Regions from separate parts of the Homo sapiens genome. Here region 1 is linked to region 2. Evidence: promoter capture Hi-C in human tissues and cell types (Jung and others, 2019). All regions are on one chromosome and are shown on one strand. Each heading gives the region's core, a stretch centred on a gene start or on the middle of the fragment in contact. The rest is flanking DNA. Distances are from core to core; before and after follow the strand shown.

Region 1 (5,918 bases), core at 1,663-4,162, 390 kb after region 2:
ATATTTGATATTTTTATCTTGATTCCCCATGAGTTTTAGTCTAATTTTATTAGGTCATGTTTTGCTACTATTTTGGTTCATTTTCACCTGTAATATGGTTTCACTTTTCATCACGTTTATTTATACTCTATTTCAGGAAATTCATCTTGAGTATTAAAACTGTAGTGTTAGATACACAGCTACAACCATCGTTTTAGATATATCCTCTTAATTTGGATTTCATTTTTAGGTGCTCTGCGTTTTGCATATTGGATCTCTCTTTTCATTTTCATTTCTTCAAATGATTTTTGTTTCTTTGTTAAATTTTGTTCTGTTCATTAATTTCTGTATTCTGTGTTCCATACTATACTTTCTGTGGCATTTGTCAGATCTTATGCGCCTAGAGATGGGGGTCTCACTGTGTTGCCCAGGCTGGCCTCAACCTTGAACTCCTGGACTCAAGCAATCTTCTAGACTCAGTCTCCCAAGTAGCTGGGACCACAGGCACATGCCGCTGCACTAGCTAGTTTATTCTTCATTTCTGATGTGACTTAGCCTATTTTCTCTTTCAGTCTTGAATTCCACTAACTCCCATCTATGGTCTATCTATTACTTTCTTCTCTCTCCTGAGATCGTATATTTTTGCTTGTGGTCTGCTTTTAGAGCTGCAATTGCATCATACTTTTTTTTTAATTCAGACTGAAATGTTGGGTGATGATTTTCATCTTCTCTGATTTTTTTAGTGAGTTTTTTTGTACATGGGGGATTTTGACACACTTTTAAAACTTTGTGTGTTTTTTGTTGTTGTTGTTGTTGTTGTTTTGAGATGGAGTCTTGCTCTGTTGCTAGGCTGAAGTGCAGTGGCGTGATCTTGGCTCACTGGAACCTCTGCCTCCCAGGTTCAAGTGATTCTCCTGCCTCAGCCTCCCAAGTAGCTGGCACTACAGGCACATGCCACCACACCTGGCTAATTTTTTGTATTTTTAGTAGAGACAGGGTTTCACCATGTTAGCCAGGATGGTCTCGATCTCCTGACCTCGTGATCCGCCCGCTTTGGCCTCCCAAAGTGCTGGGATTACAGGCGTGAGCCACTGCACCAGCCTAAAACTTTTATCTAACTATCTTACGCATGTTATATCTAATTTATATTTTGGAGAGGATGTAATAGATTTTCCTGGAATAGCTGTCACTGGTATTTTCATGTGAAAAAAGTGAATGGGGCAAGGGTAGTTTTTAAGGTTTTTTTGCTCAAGGGTTTCTTCCTCTGTTACCCCAGTAGAAGACAATTTTTTTAAAATTTGGTTCCCTTTGAATAGCCAGGCCTTCTTTACCATTCAGAAGCTCAACTGGTTCAGGAGGACTCCTATTATCAGCTCTGAGTTCACCCAGTGTCTTCTACTATAATTAAGGAATACAGCCAAGTCCCCAGCTCATTTTATGAGGCCAGTATTTCCCAGATACTGAAACGAGACAAAGTATATCTCATAAGAATATGGGTGTAAAAATCCTCAACAAGTAGTAGCAAACCAAATCCAGTAACATCTAAAATGAATTATATAACATGACTGAGTGGGATTTATCCCAGAAATGCAAGGTTGGCTCACCATCAAAAGTCAGTTAATGTGATACATCATATCAATAGAATAAAAAAACAAAAATCACACAATCATCTCAATAGATAGAGATAAGGCATTTGACCAGAGCCAATACCCTTTATGATTTTTTTTAAAACATACACATTCTACAAACTAGGAATAAAGAGGAATTCAACCTGATATCTAGGAAAAACCCACAGCCAACATCACACTTAATGGTAAAAGACTGGATGTCTTCCCTCTAAGATCAGGGACCAGACAAGGATCCCCACTTCTGTTTAACATTGTACTGGCAATTGGGCTAGGGCAAATGGGGAAGTAAAAGAAATAAAAGACACTGGAGAAAAGAACGGAACACAGCTAAGAGCATCTCTATTTGCAGATGGCATGATTTTCTATATAGAAAATAAAACTTATACTCTGAAAACTACAAAATAGATGATATTCAAACAAAAACTTTTACATGAATGTTCATTGCAGCATTTTAAAAATAATTGTCAGCCGGGCATGGTAGCTCAGGCCTGTAATCCCAGCACTTTGGGAGGCCGAGGCGGGCGGATCACCTGAGGTCGGGAATTTGAGACTAGCCTGACCAACATGAAGAAACCCCGTCTCTACTAAAAATACAAAATTAGCTGGGCATAGTGGTACATGCCTGTAATCCCAGCTACTCGGGAGGCTGAGGCAGGAGAGTCACTTGAACCCCAGAGGTGGAGGTTGTGGTGAGTCGAGATCGTGCCATTGCACTCCAGCCTGGGCAACAAGAGCGAAACTTCATCTCAAAAATAATAGTAATTGTCAAAAGGTGGAAACAACCCAAATGTCCATTAATAGACGAATGGGTAGACAAAAGGTGGTCTATTCATTTGCAGAGATATTATTCAGGCATAGCAAGGAATGAAGTACTGATTCATGCTACAATTTGGATAAACCTTGAGAACCTTATGCTACGTGAAAGAAGCCAGTAACAAGTCCACATATGTTATTCCATTCATATGAAAGTCCAGAATAGGAAAATCCATAGAGTCAGAAAGTAGATTAGTCATTATTTGAGGCTAAGTATGGGGCACATGTGGCAGTGGGGAAGCCAAGGAGTGATAGCCAAAGGGTTAGAGTTTCTTTTCGAAATGATGAAAATATTCTAACATTGACTGTGGTTGCACGTATTTGTGAATATACTAAGAACCATTGAATTGTTCACTGTAAATGGCTTAATTGTATGGTATGTGAATTATATTTCAATAAAGCTTTAAAAAAAAAATACAACCAATGTGTTTTGCCACCTTGAATCCCCCTGACATCTTCGGGCCTCCTTTTACCACCTCCTTTTGACATCATTCCTGCTCACAGAAACTTTCATTCAGGATATGGTCTACTCCCCATGGGAATGGATATTCCTCATTTGTTTTTCTTTGTAGCATCACTGTGGCTTCCACAGACATTGTTCTTTCATTTTCTTTTCACATCTCCAAATAATTTGGAATCTGTTCATTTTCTGTTTCCTGATGGTTGGGATTTACTTTGATTTTCTTGTTTCTGTCTACATGGTTTCCAGGAGGAGGAATATCAGGATTAGAATTAGTTTTTGGCTGGACATGGTGGCCTACACCTGTAATTCCAGCACTTTGGGAGGCCAAGGTGGGAAAGTATTTCTTGAGGCCAGGAGTTTGAGAACAGCCTGGGCAACATAGCGGACCCCGTCTCGACAAAAATAAAATAAATTAGCCAGGCACAGTGGTGCATTCCTGTAGTCCCACCCTATTCAGCAGACTGAGGTGGAAGGATCGCTTCAGCCTAGCAGTTTGAGGCAACAGTAAACTGTGATTGCACCACTCTACTCCAGCATGACTGACAGTTTGAGACACTGTCCCTAAAAATTTTTTTTTCCTTTTTTTTTTTTTTGAGAAGGGGTTTTGCTCTTGTTGCCCAGGCTGGAGTGCAATGGCACGATCTCAGCTCACCGCAACCTCCGCCTCCCAGGTTCAAGCAGTTCTCCTGCCTCAGCCTCCTGAGTAGCTGGGATTACAGGCATGTGCCACCATGCCCGGCTAATTTTATATTTTTAATTAAGACGAGGTTTGTCCATGTTGGTCAGGCTGATCTCGAACTCCCGACCTCAGGTGATCCGCCTGCCTCGGCCTCCCAAAGTGCTGGGATTACAGGCGTGAGCCACTGTGCTCAGCTAAAAAAAAGTTTTATTTAAAAGAACTAGTTTTTTCTTAAAACCGTGTAATAATCACTCTCAAGTACTTCATGTTCTCAAACACAAAATATATTTTAGTTCACAATTTATTCTCCAGCCCTTCACTCTTCTTGGAAAAGTGCTTAAAGTTCTCTATGCCCCTGAAGCTGTCTGTCTCCTAGGACCAATTCATACTACAGGCTTTACATGGAATTTTCATGAACTCCTCAGATTATGTATATCAGTCTTTATCCTCTCACACCAACTTTGCTGTATCTCTAATTAGAAACATTTTTAAACCTTACTTTAAAAATGCAGAATGCTTTCTTATTACCTCTGAAATATGGCCCAAACTCTATACCCTATTTTTTAGGGCTTTTCATAACAGGATCCCTGCTTTATACGTCTCCATCTGCCACTGTCTTTCCTCTCTGTGTTCCTTGAATGCACAAAAATATCTTTGCTTGATTGGCGCATGTTGTTTCCTCTGCTAGGAGATCCCCCTCACCTTGCCCTGTCTTCTCTGGTGAGCCCCTGTGGAGGAAAAGTTAAATATTAAATTTGAACTCAATTGAACATGGACACAAACAATGGTCACCAAGTCCTGGAACAGGTTGTGTGAGCCCCTTGAAGCGTTCATCCAGTGCTGTTTCGGAGAATTCTCTATTTCAATCTATTCCTATACATTAGTCATTGAAAAACAATAGACAATCGCAAAAACAGGTTGAACTTTTTGTGTTCCTTGAGCCCAGTCAGGAAGGGCCCTTGTGACTGGGCCTCATGCCAAACAACTTGTTACAAAAAGAGCTAAGCTCCCAGACTGCACCAAAGCTTCATGAGACCTCTCCTCGCCTGTGCACGGATGGGTGGCCGACTGTGGAGCCCAGGCTGTTGCTTCCCGGTCTGGTGGTGAATCCTCCATAGTCTGCTGGGTGTAGTGTCTGACTCTGGAGCCCAGGCTGTTGCTTCCCAGTCTGGTGGTGAATGCTTATAGTTTGGTAAGTGTATATATATATATATATATATATATATATATATATATGTGTGTGTGTGTGTGTGTGTGTGTATGTGTATATATATACACACACACACATATATACACACATACACACACAACACACATATATATCTATGTATGTACATATATTTTCCCTTCTCTTCCCATTGCAATTTGCTTATTATATCATTTGCTTATTATATCTGCATTGCCATTTATGTGGGATAAAGGTTGTTTACCCTTAAAGGTATTGTGTGTCTTTTCTTCTCCCCTCGCGCATTTCCCACACAGAACAGCCCCTCAAGAGTCAGCTGAAGTACCATTTCCTATAGGAAATTTTCTGTTAAAAACTAGTTTTGGTTTGGGCTCCTTAGAACTAGTTGGCTCCTTTCATAACCATGATTACCTTTATTTCCTACAGTATTGTAATTGCTGCTTACTTTTCTGACTGTGAATTCCTTGATAGTAGGTCTTGCAACTTATTTATCTGATTCCCTTGTGCTAAGTGCAAAGCTAGATTCAGAGAGGCATATATATATATAATTTTTATTATATATATAATTATAGATAATTATAAAATTATCTATATATAATTTTTTTTTTTTGAGACCGAGTCTCGCTGTGTCGCCAGGCTGGAGTGCAATGGTGCAATCTCGGCTCACTGCAACCTCCAACTCCTGGGTTCAAGCGATTCTCCTGCCTCAGCCTCCCGAATAGCTGGGATTACAGGGATGCGCCACCATGCCTGGCTAATTTTTGTATTTTTAGTAGAGACGGGGTTTCACCATGTCGGCCAAGATGGTCTTCATCTCCTGACCTCGTGATCTGCCCGCCTCGCCTCCCAAAGTGCTGGGATTACAGGCGAGAGCCACCACGCCCGGCCAATATATTTTTTTAATAAAAGTTCGTGCTTCACAACACTGACTACTCGCCCAATCCAGCCTTCCTTCCATCTTTGGGTTCCCTTCATGAAAAAGCCACCCTGATGCTCACTGTCAATGAAAACACAGGAGGCAGAGATCATGGGCTGCTCCTATAAGGGAAAGGCCCAGCTCATCCTTCACTCAATAAAATAAGAAATTCTGAAATCCAGAGGGTAGGATACAGTATTCAAAGTAACAAGCTTTGCATTCAGCAAACCTATGATATTTCCTAATAGTGAATT
Region 2 (6,375 bases), core at 1-2,500:
GACCAACACGGAGAAACCCCGTCTCTACTGAAAATACAAAATTAGCAGGGCGTGGTGACACACGCCTGTAATCCCAGCTACTAGGAAGGCTGAGGCAGGAGAATTGCTTGAACCGGGGAGGCGGAGGTTGCGGTGAGCCGAGATTGCGCCATTGCACTCCAGCCTGGGCAACAACAGCGAAACTCCGCCTTAAAACAAAACAAAACAAAAACAGAGAAGTGTAGGCTGTCATGAGCATTCTTGGTATCAGAGGGGTGAGGTCTCTCCTCTCGAGAATCTGTCCTGACCTCACAGGGAGAGCTGGAGTCACAAAGACAGTCACAAGCACCCCCTACCCAATGCTGCAGTCACCCAGCCACCATGGGGACCCACATAGACCTCCACAGGCACGCCTCACCCAAACAATAACACTATATATGGTCACACAATCATTGTCCCACATCTACCTTGAGGATAAGTTACACTAGCATATTTACAGACCCCTCAAACATAGCACCATTCAGAACCAGAGTGCTACAGATAGTCACAATACCACACGCACTACTGAGCCACACAAAGTTACAGTTCCCCCCTCCCCAGGACCCCTATTGAGCACTACACACAATCACACATTCAAAATAACACAATGACCACTAGGACACACATATCACCCCGGCACGATTACACGCACTTTCCAACCGCAGACACAGTGCTACATAAAGTTACATGGTCACACTCTCACATTCTCACGTTACTGGGTTATTTCTGGGTAGTAGATTTACTCAGTAAGGCATCCAGTACACTTAAGTGCTGCTAACAGTCATACAAACACAATTACACACACCCCTCAGACTAACACACAGTCACAGCCTCATCAGATTCTCTCCACACAAACACCCTCCACAAATGTCACGCAAAGTTACACAGCCACACACAATCACAGTCCCAACACGGGACACAGTCATACCTACACATACAGCCTTACATTGTTACAATTACACAACTACAACGAGGATATACAATCACACCCGCGCACACAGAGAGGCACAGTCACATAAGGTCACACTCACACACGGAAGCCCACGCCTCGCGCCCGCCTCCCCACCACCCCCTCTATCAGCCCGACCAACTCATACATGCCCGACACACTCATACATGCCCAACACTCCAGACCAGCCTGGTCAGTCCCTTCAAACTCCCATGCACGTACCTGCGGGCCCCAGCCGAGCCTGCAAGACCCAGGCCGCTCACCGCGCACTTCCCCTACCCTTGAGGCGGAGGGTCCAGCAGGCAAATGAAGGGGCTGCCCTGGACTCGCGGGGGCCTCTGGGAAATACAGTCCGGAGTAGGACCGCGCCGAGAAGATGGCGCCTGTTTTTTCGGGTTCTTGCAGCTGCACAGCTCGGGGACATCCCTGCTCCGCACTCCGAACCGCTACCCCGCGTCTCCGTGATCCAGACACAGGCTCAGAGTGAAACTGCCGTAGGACGCTGGCCCTGCACGCTGAAGACAATCTTCCTCCATGGTACCGGCCAACCCCAGGGAGTTCCCTGAGAAACAGGAAAAGGTCGCCAGCTTCGGGCCAGATGTTGACTAGAGCCGCAAGGATTTTTGGGAACTGTAGTCTAGAGCAGGAAGGGGTGAGGCGCTGGGGCAAGTGGAAGGAGGTCGCTTAAATGACTTCCTGCCCCAAGCCGACTCAGTGCAGAACGCACCCAGGACCCCGGACTGTACTAGGCGTTATAACGCTCTCTGAGAATGCTAGACTGACTAAATCGTCATTTTTGCCTTCATCCGTGGATAAGCCACATACTGTATGACTGCATTTATAGGAAATATTTAAAATAGTCAAATCTACGGAAAAGGAGTAAGTTAGAGTTTTTTAGGACTAGCAGGATTAGGGGGAACTGTGAGTGATTGGTAATAGCTAAAGGGTTCATTTTTGGGGTAATGCAAAGCTTCTTGAATTAGATAATGATGTTTGCACAACTCTGAATACACTAAAAGTGACTGAATGGTACACCATAAACGAGCTAATGTTATAGTTTGTAAATTATATTTGTGTGCATGTTTTTTAAAAATCAACTTTACTGAAGAATAATTTAGATACAATAAAATGCACTCATTTTAAGTGAACTGTTCGGTAAGCTTCAACGCATGTCTAAACCCTTGTCACCACCATCGTAATCAGGATATAGAATATTTTTTAAAATTAAAAAATTTTTAAGCATTTTAGTTAAATTTTTGTGGGTACATAGTAGTTGTATATGGGGTACATGAGATGTTTTGATACAGGCATGCAATGCGTAAGAATCATATCATGTAAAATAGGGTGTCTATCCCCTCAAGCATTTATCCTTAGTGTTACTGGATATAGAATTTTTTTTTTTTTTTTTTTGAGTTGGAGTCTAGCTGTCACCCAGGCTGGACTGCAGTGGCGAGATCTCGGCTCACTGCAAGTTCCGCCTCCCGGGTTCAAGCGATTCTCCTGCCTCAGCCTTCCGAGTAGCTGGTATTACAGGTGCCCGCCACCATGCCTGGCTAATTTTTGTATTTTTAGTAGAGACAGGGTTCGAGCTCACAGGCTGGTCTCGAACTCCCGACCTCGAACTTCTGACTTCGTGATCCGCTCGCCTCGGCCTCCCAAAGTGCTGAGATTACAAGCGTGAGCCACCGCGCCCGGCGGATATAGAATATTTTTATTCACCGCCCTCTGCCCCCCACATTGTTAAGTCAATCCCCACCTCCCAAACCCCACATCAGGCATCTATTGACTATTCTAAGGAATGAGCAGTAGTATCAAATTATGTTTTTAATTTGCATTTCCTGATGTCAATGAACTTAGCATACTTTCATATACTTATTTGCCATTCTTTTATCTTCTTTTGTGACATCTATTGAAAATATTCGGCTGGGCGCAGTGGCTCACGCCTGTAATCCTAGCACTTTGGGAGGCTGAGGCGGGCAGATCACCTGAGGTTGGGAGTTCGAGACCACCCTGACCAACGTGGAGAAACACCGTCTCTACTAAAAATACGAAATTGGCCAGGCGTGGCGGTGCATGCCTGTAATCCCTGCAGGAGAATCACTTGAACCCGGGAGGCAGAGGTTGCTGTGAGCTGAGATCACACTGTTGCACTCCAGCTAGGGCAACAAGAGCAAAACTGCATCTCAAAAAATAATAATAAATAAATAAATAAATAAAATTTTCTTATTTTAAAATTGGTTATTATTGAGTTGTAACAATTCTTTATATGTTTGGGTAAAAGTCCTTTGCCAAATATACATATTGCAAATTGCAAATATTCTCTCCCTGCCTGGGGCTTACCTTCTCAGTTTTTTTTTTTTTTTTTTTTTGAGACAGGGTCTTGCTCTGTTGCCTAGTCTGGAGTGCAGTGGTGTTAACATAGCTCACCACAGCCTTGACCTCCTGGGTTTAGTCGATCCTCCTGAGTAGCTGGGACTGCAGGTGTGCACCACCACCCCCAACTAATTTTCTTGTGTTTTGTGGAGATGGGGTCTCACTGTGTTATTACAGGTGTGAGTCACTGTGCCCAGCCCTCAGTTTCTTCATGATGTCTTTCAAAAAGCAGTTTTTACTTCTGATGAAATCCAATTTCTCATCTTTAAAATGTGCTTCATGCTTTCTGGTCTTTCTAACAATCTTTGACTCCTCTAGTGTTGTGAAGAATTTCTCCTATGTTTTATTCTAAAGGTTGTATAGTTTTAGTTTTTATTTTTGGTCTATCATCCACTTGAAGTTAGTTTTTGTGTATGTGAGGTAATGTTCAAAGTTATTATTTTCCAGATGGAAATTCAGTTGTTCTAACATCACATGTTAACAAAACTATCATTTTCCTCTTGAATGACCTCAACATCTAAAGTAGGCAGGATAATGTTCCCCCCAAAATACCCACATGCTAGTTCCTGGGACTTGTGAATATGCTATGTTACATGGCAAGTGGAATTAAATTAACAGGTAGAATTAAAGTTGCTAATCGGCTGACCTTAACATAGGGGAATTATACTGGATTGTCCAGTTAGACCCAATGTAATCACATGGGGTCTGAAATGAGGAAGAAGGCATAAAGTCAGTGTTGGAATTGTGTGCTGTGAGAAACACACGACCAGCCATTATTGGGTGTAAAGATGAAAGGAGCCCATGAGCTGAGGAATGCAGGCAGCTTCTCCAACTTGGAAAATGAAAAAAAACAAATTCTCCAGAGCCTCCAGAAAGGAATGCAGCTTGCAAACTTTTGATTTTAGAGCAGAAAAAACTCATTTCTTTTTTTTAATTTTTAATTTATTTTTTTAATTTTTATTTATTTATTTTGAGATGGGGTCTCCCTCTGTTGCCCAAGCTGGAGTGCAGTGGTGGGATCTCGGCTCACTGCAACGTCTGCCTCCTGGGTTCAAGTGATTCTCCTGCCTCAGCCTCCCTAGTAGCTGAGATTACAGGCACCCACCACCATGCCCGGCTAATTTTTCTTTCCTTTTTTTTTTTTTTTTTTTTTTTTTTTTTAAGTAGAGACAGGGTTTCATCATGTTGGCTAGGCTGGTCTTGAACTCCTGACCTCAAGTGATCTGCCTGCCTTGGCCTCCCGAAGTACTGGGATTACAGGTGTGAGCCACTGCACCCAGCATTTTTTTTTTTTTTTTTTTTTTTTAGAGACAAGGTCTTGCTCTGTCTCCCAGGCTGGAATGCAGAGGTATGATCACAGCTCACTGCAGCCTCATACTCCTGGACTTAAGCATCCTTCCGCCTAGGCCTTCTGAGTAGCTGGGACTATTGGTGTACACCACCACACCTGGCTAATTGAAAAAAAAATTTATAGAGAGAGGGTTTAGTTATGTTGCCCAGTCTAGTTTCAAACTCCGGGCCTCAAGTAATCCTCCCACCGAGGCCTCCCAAAGTGCTGGGATTACAGGCATGAGCCACCACAACAGCTGTGTCATCCCAACCCCTCTCTGGGCTTGATCACATAAAGAAGGCTTGCATTCCTCAGATAAAAGCCATTTATTTTCTTTTTCAACACTATGCGGAGTGAGATAAGCCAGACCAAAAGGACAAATATTGTATGAATCCACTTATATGAGGTGCCTAGAATAGGTGTATTCATAGAGACAGAAAGTAGAATTGAAGTTACATGAAGTTATATGAGGTACATGATAAAGCCTCTATACTTAAAACAGTGTGCTATTTGTGTGTGGTTAGAGAGACAGACAAAGGGAGGAGGATGGGAAATGGAGAAATAAACATCCATGGCCGGGCGCGGTGGCTCACGCCCAGCCCTTTGGGTGGCCGAGGTGGGTGGATCACCTGAGGTCAGGAGTTCGAGACCAGCCTGGCCAACATGATGAAACCCCATCTCTACTAAAAATACAAAAAATAAGCTGGGCATGGTGGCATGCGCCTGTCATCCCAGCTACTCAGGAGGCTGAGGCAGGAGAATTGCTTGAACCTGGGAGGCGGAGGTTGCAGTGAGCCGAGATTAAGCCACTGCACTCCAGCCTGGGCAACAGGAGCAAAACTCCGTCTCAAAAAAAGAAAGAAAGAAAGAAATTAACATCCCGGCCAGGCACGGTGGCTCACACCTGTAATCCCAGCACTTTGGGAGGCCAAGGCGGGTGAATCATGAGGTGAAGAGATCGAGACCATCCTGGCCAACATGATGAAACCCCGTCTCTACTAAAAATACAAAAATTAGCTGGGTGTGGTGGCACGCGCCTGTAGTCCCAGCTACTCGGGAGGCTGAGGCAGGAGAATCGCTTGAACCTGGGAGGCAGAGGTTGCAGTGAGCTGAGATTGTGCCACTGCGCTACAGCCTGGTGACAGAGTGAGACTTCATCTCAAAAAAAAAAGAAATTAACATCCACATAGATGCTTAGTATTTGATAAAGGTAGCAGCTCAAATCACCACAGTCACATCATAAAGTTTTATGCAGCCCATACACACACAGCAGAAAAAAAAAAAAACGAAGCTCTCTACGGAATGACATTAACTCTGGAATATATAAAAAATGGAAAGTATAGAACAGTGTAACATATAGTTCGTCTAAAAAAGAAAAGGAAATTAGATTAGATATAAGCATTTGTTTATATTCACTAAAAAAAGAAAAGATAGGAAAAAAGAAGTATTGGAAACGTGAACCAGAAACAATACCTATAGTGATAACCTATAGTGATTGGGGTGGTGGGGGGAGTGAGACTTGATATGTCTTTTTATACAGTTGCATAGGAAAAACAAACTGGTTTTAAAAATATATACTCTCACAACACTCAATACTTCCAGAATGTTTCGTTTTTAACACAAAATATGTGGAGTTTTTCTGACACCACTTCTCCAGCCCTCCCTACATGGGTGTCCTACAATTGAATTCAATTCTGACACTAAC

What was found. Contacts are between HindIII fragments. The study calls those that stand out against the background at their distance.
Region 1: a contact is called between a fragment that was not itself captured here and the fragment with the promoter of ZNF383 in region 2, in 1 of the 25 tissues and cell types used here (bladder).

Annotation. Positions count from the first base shown.
Region 1 is chr19:36,826,022-36,831,939 of GRCh38, reverse strand. All of the region lies in intron 1 of ZNF790 (zinc finger protein 790), which reads left to right. It overlaps ZNF790-AS1 (ZNF790 antisense RNA 1), which reads right to left. Exons shown (of 6, transcript NR_040027.1): 6 at 3,829-4,290. Among named protein-coding and RNA genes, the nearest start is that of ZNF790, 9.4 kb to the left of the region's middle. The HindIII fragment of the contact is 4,640 bases long and covers 593-5,232 here.
Region 2 is chr19:37,213,089-37,219,463 of GRCh38, reverse strand. It overlaps ZNF383 (zinc finger protein 383), which reads right to left and starts at 1,250. Exons shown (of 6, transcript NM_001387601.1): 1 at 1,190-1,250. RefSeq lists an enhancer at 1,135-1,624. The HindIII fragment of the contact is 10,545 bases long and covers 1-6,264 here.